Linked DNA regions of Homo sapiens: region 1 is linked to region 2. Evidence: promoter capture Hi-C in 16 types of primary human blood cells and fetal thymus (Javierre and others, 2016). All regions are on one chromosome and are shown on one strand. The core of a region is centred on a gene start or on the middle of the fragment in contact, and the rest is flanking DNA. Distances in the headings are between cores, read along the strand shown.

Region 1 (2,700 bases), core at 44-2,543, 1.2 Mb after region 2:
GTTGTACAGTAAACCTCTTGAACTTCAGGTGTTTTTTTTTTTTTTTTGTCTGGTTTGATTTTATGAATTGCCTTGACTGGTGACTAGGTGGTAGACGTAGGTGTTGAGCTGAGTGATATTTGATGGCTCTTTCACTGGGAAGATACATGGGGGGAGGGACAGTTTAATTAAGGAGGAAATGGTTGGTCTTGGAAATGCTGTATTTGAAAGGCCTTGGTACACTCAAGTGGAGTGCCCTGGAAGACCACTAGGTATACAACAGGAATTATGGCAAGGATGGGCACAGCTCCGGCAGCTTTCGTCATGTGGGGGATTGAGGCCATGGGAATGGGCGACAGGAGGCATGCAGGTGGAGGGTCCTACGAGGAGTGAGAAACAAAGCTCACTGCAGAAGCCAAGGGAAGCCATTCTGAAGGAGGGGCAGTCACCTGTGCAACCGAAGGAAGTTCAAGAGGTAGAAATAGTACAGACCATAATCTACAACTTAAGCTGAAGGGATGAGGGAAGGAGAGGGCAGGAGCCCTTGGGCAACTAAGGGAAATTAAGTGTAGGTGGATAATAGAAATCCACAGATAATTTTAGCTGTAACTCTTAGCCTGAAGTTTTCATATATTAGGACAATTAAATGTCATGTCACCCACCAGAATGCTGAAATGCGGCTTTTCCTAAATAGTGGATTCAGTAGATCTGCTAAGCACTGGAGATGTATTGGTGAGTAAAAAAGACCAAAATCATCTTGCCCTATGGAAGAGAACAAATACATAGTATTAATTTTTCCTCTGTAAGTGCCATGGGGAACAGTAAAACCAATGAGGGAAATTGAGGGATGTGGGGCTGTGTCAGTGCCCATGGAGGAGCCCACATGGGTATTTTCCCTTTTTTTTTTTTTTTTGAGACAGGGTCTTTGTCGCCCAGGGTGGAGTGCGGTGGCACAATCTTGACTCTCTGCAACCGCCGCCTCCTGAGCTGAAGCAATCCTCCTGCCTCAGCCTCCTGAGTAGCTGGGACTACAGGCATGCGCCACCACACCCAGCTAATTTTTGCATTTTTGTAGACAGGGGGTCTCACTCTGTTGCCCAGGGTGGTTTCAAACTCCTGGGCTCAAGTGACCTGAATGTCTCGGCCTCCCAAAGTACTGGTATTATAGGCATGAGCCACCACACCTGGCCCCTTGATGAATATCTTAATCAACTTTTACTCTCATTTTTCTGAATATCTTTTTTTTGTTTAACTTGTGGTTCTTGAATTTTTGTTGTGATTCTAGAGCCAATTTACTATCAGCAATTTCTAAAATCCCTACAAGTGACTTTTAACTTTGTGCAAAATCGGAGGCTCTGAAAAGCCACTTAATGGCTTTATAGTTTGTCCATGAATCATTGTTTTAAAATGACAGCTATCAGTGTGGCGGGTTTGGAATTTTAAATGATGAAAAATCAAATGTAGAGCAACAGAATCTAAGCTCTGTTTATTATGTGCATTAAAACTCATACAAGTTACAATTTTCCATTCTTTGCCTCATTTTATTGCCTTAAATATATCAGTGGTCAGTAAACATCTGAAATTCTGTAGATGAGATTGAAACTTTGGTTTTGGAAAAACATGCAGTAATATTTAGGCTGACTGGCCCATTTAGTAAATGAAGGGGTTCCAGTTTAATTTTTTTTTTTTTCTGGTGAAATCATGGTTATAATTCACTCATGTGGAAACTTAAGATTTGTGAACTGTCTCTTAGATGTTCGGTCTAAGAAGCAGATCACTTCCTATAATGTAATCACTTCTTCGAACAACAACAAAAAAGGGCTTCTAAAAATTGTGGTGAGTTTATTTAGCAAAGCACTATAAACCGAGGAACCTTTCTCCAAAAGTTCCAGGGGCAGAGAGGAGCTTTAGAATTCATACGGAATGCCACACATTTCCAGAGCATCTTAGGTTAGAGATGTGAGCAGGCTAGCACAAAGGGAAAAGGCCTACTAGAAAAACCTTGTTAAAACAATCGAGTTTAAGGAAGCAGTGAGGAAAAGGAGAGTAAGAAGTTGTCCCGGGTTGTTCAGCTAACAGGAACATGTAGATTTGAGACTCGATCATCTAAGTTTTTGTAGGCTGAAAGCAGTTGCAAGCCACAGATGTTAAGAAATTAGGCAAATGGATATTTTTAGTTAACCTACCTTGATGTTTTTATCATTTCTTTAGGCAGTAAATGGTCTTTGACTGAGTAGTACATGAAGTATCTTTCATTTGGGATTTAGTTTTATTGAGCCGCTTCAGTAATTCTGAGGCTGGGTGGTGGGTACATAGGTTTATTGCATTAGTCTTTCTTACCTTTTATGTCCTAAAAATACACATAATATATTTTTTAAATGTCCTTCCTGCCTGTTTCAGGAAAGCAGCTTTGGGTTGCAAAGCTGTTCTTATGAATACAATCTTCCCATCTCATTTCTTATTTCTGCTTGTGCCAGCAGTTTGCCTTATAACGCTGACTGCATGTGGAGTCTAGGTGCTGTTTAGCCAAGATGCTGTTGTCACTCACTTGCTTTTTGGTAATAGAAAGTACACTTACCTAATGTGTGCTCCTCCTTCATACTTCAGTCTGACACTGGAGGAGCCTTTAAAGGTTTTAAAGGTTTGGTGGTACCTTCTGGAGGAGGACGCTTTTCTGGATTTGGTAGTGGCGCTGGAGGGAAGCCTTTGGAAGGACTGTCG
Region 2 (2,700 bases), core at 131-2,630:
AAGCATGTGACTTTGTTTTCCTCCTGTTCCCTCTGCCATCCTCCAGGGCCTCACACACAATAGGCTCTCAAATATTGCAACCATCTTGCACTCTGCAGGGCAACCTCATGGCTTATCCTTTACAAGTGGCATACTCAGAAGAATAACGAGGAAGAAAGTGTAAGAAAAGAGGGCTGTTTGGGCAAAGAAAATCTGGTTGATTCGATGTTTACAGAGTGCCAGGCCCCATGCTTGATCTCATGAGGTCCTCAGACCTTATGCCTTAGGCTATCATTTCCATTTTACAGATAAGGAATTGAGGCTCAGGGAACTGAGAGTGAGGGAAGGGCAGGGGCCTGGCTGGTGCTGGGTTCTGTCTCTTTCCAGGCAAGAAGGGACATGTGGACTTGAATATTTAGCTCAGGGATGTTGGAGGCCTAGGGTGCTGCTATTTAAATGGAAAGGGTGTCAGGGTTTCTGGGAGGGAGTAAGGGGACAGAAGAAAAGATGCTTCTGTTATCAGAAGGGAGTGGCAACGTGACAGGATACTGAAGCTTCCTCTTTTCTTATTCTGTCTCGTTTCTTTCAATATACTTATCACAATGTGTGGCTGATATTTATTATGCCTTTTTCTTTTCTATTCTCTTTTCTTTTTTGGGGCAGGGGAGCTGTTTTGCCACCAAAACCTAAGCCCATGGCCGTCTTCTTCACCGATATGACTGGTTCTCATGCAAGCACCTAGATGGCCCTCGCCCATAATTACTGGCTGCAGTTGAGTGAATAGCGGTCATTATCTAGCGCCCACCGTGTGCCCGGCCCGGTGCCGGGAGCTTTGCTTTCCGTCTCTCACATTAGGCCCTTTTAATCCAACCCCCAAGAAGGAGACACGACCATCGTCTTCATTTTGACGATTTTGAGTGGGGGTTCCAATGACTTGAACGAAAGGAGCCAGGGCACCAATCCGGGTTTGTGTAGCAGATGCCGGTGAGACCCGACTACTGCAGCTCGGGGGTGGCCGGACCCGGGGTCTCCCCGCTGAGTCTCGGGGCTTCACCGGCGCGTGGGCACAAGCACAGCACCCTCGGGTCGGGGGTGCTAGGAGGGCTAAGAGCAGCAGGACTTGAGTGACACCCAACAGCTGGTCTGATCTCTTTCAGGCGCCAACGCCAGACGCCAGCCTCCCAGCGGACCCTCTCGCAGACCCACCTTCACCCCACGCGCCCTCCCCACACAGTCCACGCGCCAGCAGCTTCGCGGATGTCAGTGAACGCTCTTCGCTTGCGCAGTCAGAACGTCCTCCGCGGCCGTGTGAACATCCGGGTCACAGGCGCATAAGGACCAATGAGCGAAGGCATCGCGAGCCAGGGGGCGCGGAGAAGGCGGGGAATCATGGCCGCCCCCAGTGTTCCGCGTCCGGGGGTTTGTGGGAGTTGCCTTGACCTGCAGCTCCGCCACCGCGGACCCGCCTTCTGCCCTCAGCAGCAGACGCTCTGTCCCGCCCGGGCAGCTCTGCGAGGCAGCGGCTGGAGAGGGAACCATGGGGACTGTGCACGCCCGGGTAAGAGGCCCAGCGACCCGCGGGCTGCGAGGCCTCTGGGCCAGCAGGGCAGACGGGCGCCGCGGGGAGACGCTCTCGTGGCTGCGCCCAGGGTTCACCGGGAGAGAGGGTGCCAAGGGTGCCGGGCTGGGTGGAGGAGGCCGAAAAGAGGTCGCCTCGGGCCAGCGAGTCTTGCAGACCTTCGAGCAGGAACCTGATAGGAGGGACGAGACTTGGCTAAAGGTCACTCGGCGAGTCCGTGGCCCAAAGGACTTGCCAACTTTCTGTGATGTCTTAGACCGCAGTGAATGTGCTCTTTCTTTGCATGATTTTAAGTTTTCTCTCTTTACTGGTCACTTCCAGCCTTTCCCCGCTCAGCCGCTGCTGGAGCCATTGTAGGCTCCTAGAGCAACAAGAATCCTTTGAAGTCTTCTAACTCAAACCTATCTAGGGGTCCTCTTTTCTCCTGTCTACCGTGCAAAAGACGGAACCGCTCTCTGCCTTACTTCCTGTTTTAAAGTGGAGGTAGTAATAGTACCTACCTCGCCTGGCTTAAAAGAGAATTAAAAGACAATGCATGTGAATACTTGGGTGCCTGGCGCCTGACTAACTGTACTGGTTGCCAAACTCCTCTCGTTTATCCTAATCTTAAATAAGGGCCAGATAATGAGTTACTTCTCCAAGGTCACATAGTTACTGGTTCCAAATGGCCTAAAACCTCAGATTTCCTGAGTCTCAGCCCCAACACTACTTTTCTACTGCAACTTTGATTGCTTCACTTGACCTGCATAGACGTTTTCAGTAGTTCCCCATTAACTTCCAAAAAAATTTAGCACAGAAGTCGCAGCCTGACATCGATAATTGGACTTAACTTCCCTTTATATGTCTTTCATTCAGATCAAACACCGTTTCTCTTCTGACATCTCTTTGTGTAACTGTAATAGGTCTGTTGCTCAGTGTGCTCGATAAGTCAATACACTCAGACAGTGGGTTGCAGCAGAGAAAGAGTTTCAGTTGCAGGGCCGCTGAACGAGGAGATGGGAAAAGAGAGGAAACCTCAAATCCATCTCCTTCAGGAGTTTGGACCTCATGTTTTTGCTGAAGTGTGGAGATCCTTGATTGGTGGAAGAGTGAAGGGTGAAGTTATGGGACAGGGAGATGAGGAAACTTCTCATGCTGATTCC

What was found. Contacts are between HindIII fragments. The CHiCAGO score rates a contact against its expected background, and 5 or more counts as called.
Region 1: a contact is called between a fragment that was not itself captured here and the fragment with the promoter of SAMM50 in region 2, in 1 of 17 cell types (non-activated CD4 T cells). The highest score is 5.1, in non-activated CD4 T cells.

The regions. Positions count from the first base shown.
Region 1 is chr22:45,173,308-45,176,007 of GRCh38, forward strand. It overlaps NUP50 (nucleoporin 50), which reads left to right. Exons shown (of 8, transcript NM_007172.4): 4 at 2,587-2,700. Among named protein-coding and RNA genes, the nearest start is that of NUP50, 11 kb to the left of the region's middle. The HindIII fragment of the contact is 4,030 bases long and covers 1-2,700 here.
Region 2 is chr22:43,954,062-43,956,761 of GRCh38, forward strand. SAMM50 (SAMM50 sorting and assembly machinery component) reads left to right here and starts at 1,381. Exons shown (of 15, transcript NM_015380.5): 1 at 1,381-1,537. The coding sequence starts at 1,517. RefSeq lists enhancers at 606-1,358, 1,026-1,075, 1,156-1,235, 1,359-2,110, 1,916-2,125 and a silencer at 1,199-1,473. The HindIII fragment of the contact is 6,277 bases long and covers 532-2,700 here.